Regions from separate parts of the Homo sapiens genome. Here region 2 is linked to region 1. The links are contacts of gene promoters, found by promoter capture Hi-C in blood cells and fetal thymus (Javierre and others, 2016). All regions are on one chromosome and are shown on one strand. Each heading gives the region's core, a stretch centred on a gene start or on the middle of the fragment in contact. The rest is flanking DNA. Distances are from core to core; before and after follow the strand shown.

Region 1 (7,523 bases), core at 4,929-7,428:
GAGCAGGAGGACAGGAAGGAAGGAAGACAGGAAAAGAGAGAAGGAGGAAAGGAAGGGAAGGAAGCAGAGAGGGAGGGAGTTGAGGAGGAGGACAGGAAGGAAGACAGAAAAAGAGAGAAGGAGGAAAGGAAGGGAGGGAAGGAGAGAGGGAAGGAGTCGAGGAGGAGGAGGACAGGAAGAAAGACAGGAAAAGAGAGAAGGAGGAAAGGAAGGGAGGGAAGGAGAGAGGGAGGGAGTTGAGGAGGACAGGAAGGAAGACAGGAAAAGAGAGAAGGAGGAAAGGAAGAGAAGGAAGCAGAGAGTGAGGGAGTCACGGAGGAGGACAGGAAGGAAGACAGGAAAAGAGAGAAGGAGGAAAGGAAGGGAAGGAAGGAGAGAGTGGAGGAGAAGAACAGGAAGGAAAACAGAAAGAGAGAAGGAGGAGGAAAGGAAGGGAGGGAAGGAGAGAGGGAAGGAGTCAAGGAGGAGGACAGGAGGAAGACAGGAGGAAAGGAAGGGAAGGAATGAGAGAGGGAGAGAGTGGAGGAGGAGAACTGGAAGGAAGACAGGAAAAGAGAGAAGGAGGAAAGGAAGGGAGGGAAGGAGAGAGGGAAGGAGTCGAAGAGGAGGACAGGAAGGAAGACAGGGAAAGAGAGAAGGAGGAAAGAAAGGGAGGGAAGGAGAAAGGGAGAGAGGGGCAAGCAAGGAGGGAACTGTTTGGAGTCAGGAGCCCTAAATCTCAGAACAATGAGATGATAAAGGGTGGGGTGTGATGAAGCCTGAGCCCCTCTCTCAGATGTCCAGTCATGTCTAGTCAGTGAGAATCCTGGCAGGACAGAGGAAATTCGAATGCATGGTAAGGTCTGACCACATGCTTCACTTCTCCACATTTTTGGAGCACACATCCTCCCTTCACATGTGCTATTTTAGAATAGTGTGTGTCTACTTAGGCACTAACATTACGGATATTACGAAACATGATCTGTAATCATTAGTGAAGGCTATAAAGCTGATGCTGGAATTTCTACTTTCTTGTTATTAACTGGAAGCTACATTTTATTATTTTCATAGGCATGTCTTTAATCCCTCTGTCCATTTTTTGACAGTTGATTTAAAAATTAAATAATATAAGCCATAAATACACTTTACCTTAATATGTACATTGCATTATGCTGAAATCAAATAAAATGGTTGAGAGCAATGATGTCTCCCCTCCTCCCTGCAAGGATACCTGGAGAAAAGACCAGGACACAAGAACATTCGCCAGTGTTCACACAAATATTAAATGTTAGGGCTGGGTGCCATGGCTCCTGCCTGTACTTCCAGCACTTTGGAAGGCCAAGGCGGGCGGATTACTTGAGGTCAGGAGTTTGAGACTAGCCTGGCCAACATGGTGAAACCCCGTCTCCACTAAAAAATACACAAGTTAGCTAGGCATGGTGGTGGGCACCTGTAGTCCCAGCTACCTGGGAGGCTGAGGTGACAGGATCGCTTGAACCCGGAAGGAGGGGAGTTGCAGTGAGCCGACTTCACGCCACTGCACTCCACCCTGGGCAACACAGTGAGATCCTGTCTCAAAAAATAAAATAAAATAAAATAAAAATAAATCTTGGTAAACTTAACACATTTGCTACTTCTTTACATTAAAATAATAATCCTGGCCGGGCGTGGTGGCTCACGCCTGTAATCCCAGCACTTTGGGAGGCTGAGGGGGGCGGATCGCAAGGTCAGGAAATCGAGACCATCCTGGCTAACATGGTGAAACCCCGTCTCTACTAAAAATACAAAAAACTAGCCAGGCATAGTGGCGGGTGCCTGTAGTCCCAGCTACTTGGGAGGCTGAGGCAGGAGAACGGCGTGAACCCGAGAGGCGGAGCTTGCAGTGAGCCAAGATCGTGCCACTGTACTCCAGCCTGGGCGAAAGAGTGAGACTCCATCTCAAAAAATAAACGAATAAATAAAATAACGATAATAATAATAATCCTAAGCCCCCTCCCCACAATGAAGTAGCTGGTATACCCCAGGAGGGGGTCAATGGTCTAGACCATTGGATGCCCTGGTTGAAAGGCAGATGCTGAGTTGGTCAGTCTGGGGGTGGCAGCTGGGATTCTGCATTTCTAGTGAGCTCCCAGGGGATGCTGGCACTGCCAGTTCCGACCACATCTGTTATCCAACACTGCAGAGAAGCAAACTGGACCTCTCGCTCAGAGCCAGTTTGCACTCTGATGGTGAAGGGGTTCAAAAACAATGACCCTCCCCACACAAAAATACCAGATATGTCCGAGAGTACAAAGCCAGGAGTGGCGAATTCAGCCATCTATGTCAGGCTCCCTTCCAGAGCTCACTGGGCTTGGAGGAAAGCAGCAGCGGGAAGGGGTGAGAATATTCAGTGCCTCTGAAGCAAGAGACTTCCTAAGTCAGCGTTGCAAAGCCAGCTATCTAGGGGAAGAAGGCAGGTAAGTCTGCAATGAGGAGCTCAAATTCAGGCCCCATCAGATGAAGTCAGAGCTTTCTGGTCTCTCAGCATCATCAAGAAAAGTAGACTGTGTACAGCCACTGAGAAAGATGGTCCCTAGTCCAACCTGTTACCCTCCATCTACGCTGGGCAAGATTTGTACCCCTAGAAAAGTAAAGAGAATAACAGGGCAAAGTGGGCTCACAGAAAACAGATACAGCAGACTGGAAACCAAATACAACAGATAACAAAAGCACAGAGACACAGGAACCAGGACAACAAACTAAGGAAGTTGAAATAAGCTAAGACTCCCTACAGGATGGCATATATATACACACAATAAATGGCATGTTTAAGTTTACATGTTGTGTGAAAGAAGAGCATCTGTTTATTTGTCCCATTGATAATGTGCTTTTGATGCCATCGTACTGTAGTTTACTGGATCATTTCTATTGTGTCTTAAAATTGTCAGGAAAAGTAAGTTATTGTCCCATGGGGAGAACACAACTGTACAAAAGTAAACTGTAATTCATGGAAGGAAATGCATCCCCATCAGCATAGAAACTGCCCATCTTTGGCTGTTGGAGAATTATGAAAAGCTAAAAACTAACTTGTTATATGTGTACAAACCACATTGCTAGAACAAAATTTCATTCTTTTCCAATCTAGCTTGTGACAGAGAAGCATTCACCATTCAGTTTGTTTTTTTTTTTTTAAGCAAAGAGGAGTCTTCCATCTTATGCATAGAAGTGATGTTACTGAAAAGTGTAGAAAATAAGACTGATAAAAACATAATGTGAAGCATGTTTTCACATCTGTGGAGAGCTGAAGTACCTACGATTTCCCAATCTGTCTCTTCCACAATCGCTGTGAGGCTTTGCCATTTCGTCAAAATGGCATTGGGGCCTTTTTTCCTTTGAAAAATACTCTTTTTTGGCCGGGGGCGGTGGCTCACGTCTGTAATTCCAGCACTTTGGGAAGCCGAGGTGGGCAGATCACTAGGTCAGGAGTTCAAGACCAGCCTGGCCAACATGGTAAAACCCCATCTCTACTAAAAAATACAAAAATTAGCTGGGTGTGGTGGCTGGCGCCTGTAATCCCAGCTACTTGGGAGGCTGAGGCAGGAGAATCACTTGAACCCAGGAGGCTGAGGCTGCAGTGAGCAGAGATTGCGCCACCGTGCTCCAGCCTGGGTGACAGAGTGAGACTCTGTCTCATAAAAGAAGAAAGAAAAAAGAAAAATACTCTTTTTTAATTTAATGACTAAACAGAAATGTGAGGTGGTTACAATACCAAAAAAATAACAGTAACTCTGACATGTGTGCATCCATTTGTTTCCAGAGAATGGAAGGAAACTGGGAGGGAGAATTCTACAGACTCCAGGTGGGAAATACTGTCATACTTACTGTAGGTACCACAGCTATGTGTGTGCAATGCATCTATTATGGAATTGTGTTCCCAAAAATATATGTTGGAGTCCTCATCCCCGCTACCTCAGAATGTGACCTTATTTGGAAACAGGATTTTGTCAGAGGTAATCAAATTAAAATGTAGTTATTAGGGTGGTCCTTAGTCCAATAAGAATCGTGTTCTTATAAAAGGAGAAAATTTGGACACAGAGACACACACAGAGGGAAGACGATAGGACAAGATACAGGGAAAGGAAAGCAGGTTCAAGCTGAGGAGAAAGACCTGGAATAGGTCCTTTCCTCACAGCCCTCAGAAGGAATTAAGACTGCTGACATCTTGATCTAGGACTTCTGGCCTCCAGATCTGTGACACAATACACATCTGCTGTTTAGGTTACTTAGTCTGTGGTATATTACTATGGCAGCTGTAGTAAACTAATACAGAAACCACGAACGACTGTATTTGAGGCGCAAGTCCCTACCTAATTTGCTCATAAATTGCCTTCTCTGAAATCCCGTGTCCTCAAAGGGAAATCACGATTGCATTAAATGGGGGAAGCTCTCTTATAGTACCACCTCTAAGAACACATAATTTTATTGACTATATATTATGCACTGGTACTAAGGGCTTGGCCTGCCTCACCTCCTTTATCACCTCCATTTTACCCAGGAGGAAACAGACACAGGTGCACTTTGTCTATCATAGATAATAATTCTTGCTGAATCCAGGCATGCCCCTGTCCACTATGTCTGCACTAAACTAGAAATACACTCTCATGTTTACACCTTTTTTTTTTTGTCTTTTTCCCCTTTTGTGGAGAACAGGGTCTCGCTATATTGCCCAGGCAGTTCTTAAACTTCTGGGCTCAAACTATTCCCCCAACTCCCACTTCTGCCTCCCTAAGTACTGGGATTACAGGTGTGGGCCACTGCGCCCAGCACACCCTCACGTTTTTAAAGTCTTGAAATTCTCCTATTTCCGCTTCTCAAAAGGTCCAATCCTTTTCCTTAAACGTGAATATACCACATAAACGAACACGAAATAGAAACAGGGACAAAAAAGTATTTTTTTGACGATGGCAAACGGGAAAAAAAAAAAAGAAAGCTGTTTAGGTGGCATTTGAAAAGTTAAAAAAGAAAGAAAACTCAGAGCAGCCCAAAAGACAGATGATACCTAAGAAGGCACAACCAGCAAGACATGTTGACTGTTAGTATTATTTCAGCATCCTCCTTGAGCAGCTTGGCTTTGCTCTGGGACAATGCACCAGCCTGGGATGCTCAGAGATGCAGGCACGGAGGTTGTGCAGCCTCTCCGCACACTGCGCATGCGCGGCTGCCGGTTCAAGTCGCGGTCCAGGACCGCAAGGAGGCGGGCAAGCGAAACTGAGAAAAACCCACCCACGGTCCAGGGACTGGGGGCTCGGGCGAACCCACCCAGGGACCTCCTGACCAAGGCCATTTGTCTGCAACCTGATGGCTAGAAGTGATACCACCCTGAGCATCTTCAATCCCCTTTCCCCACTCTACAGCCCCTTGTACTGTCCCTCCTTCCTCATTCACACCCCTGATCCAAACTCAAGCACTGAATTTGTCCCCAGACGAGGGCCTCGGCTCTGCGCGGCCGCTGGCTGAGTAGCTTGGCCCGATTCCGGGTGTGAAGTGAGGAGGAATTGATGCGGGTAAACATACAGCGCCGGCCCGCGCCGCATCCCGGGTCTGCAGCTACAGCTGCGGCGAAAGCCCAAGGTGCGCGTGCGCGGAGCGCCACTAGGCAGCCCAGGACGCGCGGGCTCGGAGCCGGGCGAGGGGCCGCGGAAGGCGCGTGCGCAGAGCGACCCCGGGCGCGCGAGAAGGTCCTCAGTGCGCGTGCGCGGGGCGGGCGGGTGCGCGCGCACTTCCTCCTCGCCCCCACCCAGACCCAGAAGGCGCCACCATGGCGGCGCCCCCGCAGCCCGTCACCCACCTCATCTTTGACATGGACGGACTTCTTCTGGGTGGGTAGTGTGCAGCCGCCGCCTCCAGTAAGGGCGGTCTTGTGTGGGCGTGGGGACGGTCGGCGCGGGGTACGTCACGGCCTGGGGGCCGCGGCGGGGCGGTGTTCATGCAGGGACGCTCGGGCTCCCGCGCGCTCTGCCCCCGGCTGGCCCCGAAGTCGGGCGGCGGCCAGGAGCGCCCGCGGGCCCATGTCCGGGCTGGCGGGCGCGCGTGGCCGCGGCGTCTACGCGGCCCCAGCACCCGCTTCCGGTCGGCGGCCCGCGCGTGGGGCCGGAGCACGTGGGAGCAGTCCCTGGGGTCCACCGGGCGGGCGCGCGGCTCCGCGTCCTCTCCTCAGAGCGAGGCGCGGCGGGACCTCCGCGCTCTCTTTTCGGTTACGCATGCGTGCGACCTTGAGCGGTGCCCAGCCTCAGCTTCCCCGTCTGCAAAGTAGCCTGGAGGATACTTGCCTGCCTGCTCCAAGGTTGCTGCTGTGGGCGCACTTTGATGGTAGCATCCTGCATGGTAGCGGTTCTCTACCTGGCGGTTTTGCAGCCCTGAGGGCATCTGGCAATGGCGATGTCAGGAGACATTTTGGCTGTCACAGCTGGCGAGGAGTGATGGGGTCACTGGCATCTAGTGGAGTCCAGACCAGTGATACTGTTAAACTTCCCGCAGTGCACAGGAGTGCCCTATGCAACCATAAGGAATTATCCCGCGCCGTCAACAGTGTAGAGGCACAGAAGGTCCGTCAAGTGGCCTGGCTGCCTAGGGTGACCAGCACCGGGGACATCACCTGTGGGCTACTTGTAAATGTAGAAGCTGGGGCCCCACCCTACCCCTGCCCAATCAGAATCTGCATTTTAAGCGCGTGAACGTTTGAGAACAGCTGCTCTATCAATCCGAGGCATTAAGAAACCCTTGGCAGTGTACTAAGGTAGTCAGTCTTAGCACATGTGAACTTCACCAGCCAAGAGGAATTCAAGTAGAATTCAAAGAATAAAACCCTGTTTTTAACTCAAGACAGAACTATGCTGAGCTCTACCGAAAGCCTTGACACAGTTAACACTATGACACATAATCACCAGGAGGCTTCATATATCTATAAACATGTCTGCATACTCTTTGTAGACAGCTGACCTGCTTGGTTACGTATATCATTCCTTCATTTCAAAACCCTGCAAGTTAGGAGGAAGTATTTGCATGTCACTAATTAAAAAAAAAAAAAAAAAAAAAACCCTGCAGCTCAGAGAGGTAAAGCTACTTGCCCAAGGTCACACAGCTAATAAGCCAAGCTGAGAAACGATTCTGGATTGATCCAGTTCTAAATATAAATGATGTTGAGCTCATCTTAAATTGTGAATGTGACCTTGTTTCTGCTCATCATATTGCTGGGTAATTCCCTAGCAGTGTTTCCTTTTAAAAAGGCATGCAGAAACCATTCTCTTCATTTTATGAACACAGAGGTGTAAACTGATGAATTCCAAAGGAAAAAAAAAATCCCCGTAGAGGTCACTAATTGGAGCCAACGGTGTATGCAGCTACTAAATTTGAAATGACTCAATTTCAGAAAGCTTGTGGGATACATAGGTATAGTTTGTAGACATGAATTTTCCTACTCCGGTGGTCAAAAAGTTAAATTGTCAAATAAATTTCTTATCCTCTAATAAAGGTCCAGAGAACCTGTTCTGGGAGTCTCATGAATT
Region 2 (6,739 bases), core at 89-2,588, 920 kb after region 1:
CCGCTCGGCTGCAGATGATGCGTGGGTGGGGGGCTTGCTGTGGGAGGAGAGGCCCAGGTCCCGGCCTGCGCCCTCCACTCCGCGGCTGCTCCCTCCGCCTCTGGTTTTCCAAGAGGCCGGTCGCTACCCCGGAGGACACTCTCATCCTTCAGTCAGTCTCCTGGACACCCCTTCCTCCTCCTGTCCCTCAACCTGACCTGGCTCTTTCGCCCCTCCGAGAACCGGTAGGCTGGGGTCCCTCGGCGGGGTTCTCCTGGGCCGCACCCGAAGCTTTGCGCCCCCGGTATCCGGGCCCAGTGCTCCGTGCAACCCTGGGCCCGAGCGCACGATTCCGGCGCCTGCTCGCCGCCAGACACAGCGCCCTTTCTTCCCGGAGCGGCGGGGGCGGGAGCAGGGGGGTCAGGCCAACCCTTGCACCCCCGAGGCCTGGCCCGGGCCACCCTGGGAACGGATGTTCTGCATGGAGAGCGAGGGGCAGCCGGAGGACGTCCTCCGCATCATACCCCTCCCCTTCCCCAGAAGGCTTTTTTTTTTTCCGGACTGCGGGTTTCTTTTTCTCTGCCTTCTTCCTCTGAACCTACGGCAGGTGTCAGCCTCTTTTTGTGTATGTGCTGCTGCTATCTCGGGGATGGCGGGGGAGGGGGTGCAGGAGGCAGCGTGAAGGGGTCCTAGGAGGTTCCGGCGGGGTTTTGGCCCCTGCGGTGCGCCGGGGCTTGCAACTCGCCCGGGTGCTGGGCGCGCGCGTCACGAATTCAGCCTAGGGCTTGGGCGAGTCTGCGGGGAGTGAGGACAGAGGATCCCGATCTGTCATTTGGACCCAACTTAAGAAATTTGGGGTGGGGGTTGGGTGGGGGTTTTGGAACTAAGCAGGTGATGTTCTTGCGAGCTGGATCCACAAGGTGGTAGTATGGCTTCTTTTTATTTTTATTTTATTTTATTTCTATTTGGTCATTTTTTTTGGGGGGGGCGGTGGTTTGTTGTTGTTGTTGTTGCTCTTATCTTATGCTTTTTGAAGGCATCCGTTGCCCGTAGGGTTTACATCGGAGCGCGTTGCATTATATTTTCTTGAAAGGGGGTGGTGTGCGTGAGCTCCCATCTCAGAATCAGCCCTTCCGGTGATGTGAGGAAGGCAAAAGCAAAAAAAAAAAAAAAAAAAAAAAAAAAAAAAAGAAAAAAAGAAAGAAAAAAAAGGAAAAGAAAAAGTTTAGGGAGACCTCGTTATCCTGACGAAGCAGAATTGCCAGTTTGTGTGGGCGTTCTGCGGGCAACATAGAAGTGCATGCTTAAGAAATCCGGGGTAGCTTCCTTCTCCAGCTAGAAATTAAATGGCCAGGGTGCAAACACCTGACTTTGATGAGAACAAAGCGGCAGAAACTGCAAGAGACCTGCATGGTTTGAATGGACGCACTGAGCCTTTTCCTAGGGGATGGCAGAGCGGGGTGAAATCAGATAGCAAAGAAATCTGCCGTTTTGTGGGGGCAGATTTGGAGAGTGGAGAATTATTTCATACCTTTAGTTGGCTGTGGGGAAGATGTTAGCAGTAATCCATTAAATCCTCAGCATAGATTTTCCTGTGGAAATGAGCAAAATGTTAAGTGGGGGAGGGATGGCTAATGGCACATGGTTGCATTAATCCCTGTATTTCCAGAAAAAAATATGGAATTTCTGTGTATCCTAAAATTAAGAATACAGGAATTTCATGGAGAACTCTGCAAGCATGTATTTTCTCAGATTAGAAATTCAGTATTTTATTACTCAATGAAATGTAGAATGCGTGTGTGTGTATGTGTGTATACAGACATACACACACGCATTCTACATTTCTACATATATGTGTGTGTGTGTGTATATATATATATATATATATATATATATATATATGGCCATTTTAAAGAGTATTTTCTTTGACATGTAAGAACATAATCAGGGCCAGTTGTAGCAAGTGGAAAATTACTTCATCAGTTTTAAGTCAGTAGATTAAAATGGAAGGCTTCATTTTTTTTTGAAATCAGAATAATAATTGCATTTTCATAATAATGCCTGTGCGTGGATGCAGTTTTAAAGATGCTTTGATGTTTTCTTCTCCAGTGGAAGAATTGCTACTTTTCTTTGCGTTTTATTTAAATAAACTAATGCCGAGTATACAGTTGGCCCTCAAACCAGTAACCTAGCTGATTTTTACCCAAACCTGAGAATGTAACAGATACTTGATAAGGGACTGGTGGCTGCATAAGGTAGATAATGAAGTTATCTTGATGCTGTGAAATTTACAAGCAGACTTGAAAGAATTTGAAAGTTCATAGTTGTTGGCCTGGAATGTAGCCTAATGGTAAATATATAGATTTTTTAAAATTTGTGAACTTGGCTATTTCATTGTTTTGTGTGTAGTAATTTGTGGAAAGCTTATAGTCTCTCCACAAAGATGAGAGTGTTGACTGACTCCGCAACAGAGACTTGCTTTTGGAAGTGCAGGGGTCTCTTTAAAAGCCATTTGGAATACTGTGCTTTTATTTCTAGACCACAACCAAAAGGTTCTCAAAAAACTAAACATTCAAGTGCACGAGGGAATGACCTCCGTTTAACATTCTTTCTTTTTAATTGGTACGCCACATTTCAAACCTTTTGTAATACTGTTGAATATTGCCAATAATGCAACTTGTTGAGCGAATGCATTGCATTCAAATGAAGTAGCAATATACAAATATTTTAAGTCCTTTAGTATCCTCCTTCTAAAGATAGGCTTATCTGGTTAAAATATACTTATATTCCAAATAAGGTGAGAGTTGGTCTTAAGATGTGAATGTCAAGTGTAAGAGACACGATTTTAGTTTGTAAACCAGAATGTATTCTTTCTGTACTGCTTTCTGCCTTTTAACAATATGTATTCTATTCCCAAATGGGGAAATATGTTCAGTTTAGTTTAAATCTGTTGCTCTTTTTGTGTGTGTTTTTGTCTGAGTACTGTACTTTTTCAGAGGAGAGACTTCGTCTCCTATTTAATTATGTGAATGGATATTCAGACAGATTTGAATAGCCACCACTGATTTCTTAAACTCCTGAGCTACCAGTTTTAAATCAAAGATACATCTTTTGCACAGTCAATTAGAGGAAGTGAGAATCAAAATTGAAGCCCAGGCTGCTGAGGCAATTAGGTCATCTGCTGTGCTCTCTACTACCATTCACTCAACGAATATTTTCCAGTTCTGTCATTTTTCTCTAAACAACCTACATTTGGACTTTGAAAGGCTCCACTGTTCTTTGTTAAGTGAACGGCAGTGTAGGAAGCCCTTCCTCATTTTTCTTGGAGCACAGTAGCACACATGAACAAGAAAAAAAAGAAGGTGATAGCTCCTAGCAGTTTGTCATTGTGCCATTTATAGGCTTTGAATAAATGTATAGATGAAAAGGCTTTCCCTCTGCAGGTGGTTACATTAAACAAAAAATAAGTAAATAAAAGCCTCATAAAATCATTACGGGAGTGGAAGGTTGGTGGTGGAAAACAGCCCATCTACCTCGGGCTGAGATTTCAAACTTTAGACATCTCGTGTTCAGTTCACGTGTCCCAGGTGTGTGCGGAACACCTCCATACACCACATCTTCCCAAGGCACTCTCATCTTCCCAGAAATGGTACCTGAAGGAGAACAGACCTAACCCCAACAATACTAAAATACGTATATAAAAAACTATATATAGTAAGATATGTATCCTACTATATAATATATATATGGTAATACATATTATAGTAAGGTCTGCATCATGTATATAAAAATACACTATATATCTTATTATTATATATATAGTGAGATGAGGTGTATTAATCCATTCTCAGGCTGCTAAAAAAGACATACCCAAGACTGGGTAATTTGTAAAGGAAAGAGGTTTAAATGACTCACAGTTCAGCATGGCTGGAGAGGCCTCAGGAAACTTACAATCATGGTGGAAGGGGAAGCAAATACTTCCTTCTTCACATGATGGCAGGAAGGAGAGGAATGAGAACCGAGTGAAGGGGGAAACCCCTTATAAAATCAACAGATCTTGTGAGAACTTACTCACTATCATAAGAATAGCATGGGGCAAACTGCCCCCATGATTCAATTACTTCCCACCACATCCCTCCACGACACGTGGGGATTATGGGAGCTACAATCCAAGATGAGGTTTGGTGGGGACAAAGCCAAACCATATCATGAGGTTTTATTGAATTTATTTGAGACAGGAAAAGAGTAATCCTCCATAATTTAGAAAGGAGATGAAGTACAATGAACATTTAGGTCCTCATTAGTTGAGGAATACATTTCAAAGAGAGAAATGTTAATTTCAGTATAGTGCTAATGAAACGATCTAGGCTTTCACTGCTCTCTGGAAATGTGGATAAATGGCCCAGAATTTTGTTTGGGTTGTTTTATTTAAAATGTATATTATATAAAGAAATCATGGTTTGTCAAAGTAACAGAGTGCTATTTTTGGCTTACAACAGGACTTTCTTAGCTCCACCTGTTAATATCGGTGATCATTTTGGTTTTAAGAGGCTGGTACCTGATTGGATGATGAAAACTTGGATCTCAAAGCCATCACCCCAGACATGTGATTTTATTAACATCTGTGGGCATCTGTCCGGCTCCCACATCAACCCTTCATCCAGGCTCATTTTCTGTTTGTTTTTGTTTGGTTGTTTGTATGCTTTGGTTGGGGAGAGGGGACACGGATTTTGCTAAGGGCACCTTTTTCAGGAGTGAAACTTAGCCTGTCATATAAGCTGAAAAGGAACTTGGGTTGTTTCAAGTTGCATTACTTGGTAAGTTTTTGGATCCTTTAAAAAAGAAAGGACTGAGGTTACTAAAAGTGTTATTGGCACTGATAAAAGAGCTATGGTGAATTGTGGTTTGTTTTTGTAAAGTGCAGAAAAGGCCTCTTTGGTTCTGTGATGATGGCTGTGGTGAAGTTGCATGCGGTGCCATTTTCCATGTTTAGTATTTCAACACCACCAATATGTGGCTCTGGAGTATGGGACGGGCAAGTCCAAGAACTCAGTGAGGCATGCCGTGTGACTCCAATGGTCAGAGCTGTTCAGCATGGAACTGTGGTCTCAAAAGCATGGGGGATGGGGGCAGAAGAAGCTCGCTGCAACTGAGTGCCTTTAACTTATTCCACTCTTCAGTACTCTCTGTGACTATAACTCTGTGAATGGGTTAGGTGGGGAAACTCACAAAAGTAAATGCATGTTTTCACAAACAAAATATGTCATTGTTAACTGTTTTCCTAAGTGAGACAATATGCCCTCATGCCCTGAAGCTACATGGTAAGAATGGCAGTGTGTATGAGCGGGTGTATACACATACATGTATGCATATGCTAACACATTAACTAGGAACTAGTCTTTGCTGAAAATGTTTTTCTCAGCCATTGCAACACATTAGATAAAAGCAAATATATATATATATATATATATATATATATATATATATAATATAAGAAGGAAAAATGTGGTTTTCCATTATTTTCTTTTTCTTATCCTCATCATTCACCAAATCTATATTAAACAACTCATAACATCTGGCCTGGGTAATAGAGTGAGACCCCAACTCCACAAAGAAACAAAAATTAAAAACAAATTAGCCGGGCCTGATGGCAAGTACCTGTGGTTCCAGCTGAGGTGGGAGGATCACTTGAGCCCAGGAGTTCAGGGCTGCAGTGAGCTATGATTACGCCAGTGTACTCCAGCCTGGGAGACAGAGCAAGACCCTATCTCTAAAAATATAAATAAATAAATAAATAAATAATAAATAAAAATAGAAAATGTACAATGAAAGTTATAAAGTTGGCCAGGCGTGGTGGCTCACGCCTGTAATCCCAGCACTTTGGGAGGCTGAGGTGGGCGAATCACCTGAGGTCAGTAGTTCAAGACTAGCCTGGCCAACATGGCGAAATCCTGTCTCTACTAAAAATACAAAAACTAGCTGGGTGTGGTGGTGTGTGCCTGTAATCCCAGCTATACAGGAGGCTGAGGCCGGAGAATTGCTTGAACCTGGGAGGGGGAGGTTGCAGTGAGCCAAGATCGTGCCATTGCACTGTAGCTTGGGTGACAGAGCGAGACTCTGTCTCAAAAAAAAAAAAAAAAAAAAAGAAAGTTATAAAGTTACCTATGATGGGTCTGGATGTACTCCTTATTTAGGAGTGAAGACATTCGTTAACATGAGACCTAAGTAAGTAGAAAGTATGTGTTTAAGGGACAGGTGTCCATTTTCTCTAGGTCTCCTGGAAGCTTTTTTTTTCTAATTTGAGTACTAGTTCCAAAAAAGGTGTTACCGCCTATGTTTATAGTGAAACTATCTATGTGTGACAAAATTCTACCCTCTCTTGTCCATCAATATTGTGCAATGTTGTGTACTTGTATGGAGAAATAGACAACTTTTACAAAGATCAAACTAGGCACCCTTTACCAACGCTAAACTCATAACCCTTTTATCTGCCTTTGTAGAAGATTCTCACCTTTATTTCTCTTGGTCCCTCTGAGAAATATTTTCCTCTGAGACAATGCAATCTATGCCTCATCTTTAAGCAATCCTAGCTCACCAGTATGAGTAATGTTGTCTATTTTTAAGGTTATCTCATTATTCTAAAAGACTTTAAATTGTTGAAAAATAAATTGTGTGAGGGGTGGTAGAGTTTGAAACAATTATCTGTGATGTTACCAGATATTTTAGACTAAAATATATTAGAATCCAAGGTATTGTTCAT

Evidence for each region. The method cuts DNA at HindIII sites, captures the fragments that hold promoters and counts their contacts. A CHiCAGO score of 5 or more calls a contact.
Region 2: a fragment that was not itself captured here is called in contact with the fragment with the promoter of STS in region 1 in 1 of 17 cell types (fetal thymus); the score reaches 5.1 in fetal thymus.

The regions. Positions count from the first base shown.
Region 1 is chrX:7,146,367-7,153,889 of GRCh38, reverse strand. It overlaps STS (steroid sulfatase), which reads right to left and starts at 6,178. Exons shown (of 11, transcript NM_001320752.2): 1 at 5,807-6,178. PUDP (pseudouridine 5'-phosphatase) reads left to right here and starts at 5,737. Exons shown (of 4, transcript NM_012080.5): 1 at 5,737-5,837. The coding sequence starts at 5,777. MIR4767 (microRNA 4767) reads right to left here and starts at 6,030; the gene lies at 5,953-6,030. RefSeq lists an enhancer at 5,258-5,307 and a silencer at 5,498-6,217. The HindIII fragment of the contact is 8,353 bases long and covers 1-7,393 here.
Region 2 is chrX:6,220,120-6,226,858 of GRCh38, reverse strand. The region is part of intron 1 of NLGN4X (neuroligin 4 X-linked); the gene reads left to right. LOC105373156 (a long non-coding RNA gene) reads right to left here and starts at 501. Exons shown (of 1, transcript NR_136577.1): 1 at 1-501. The HindIII fragment of the contact is 2,132 bases long and covers 273-2,404 here.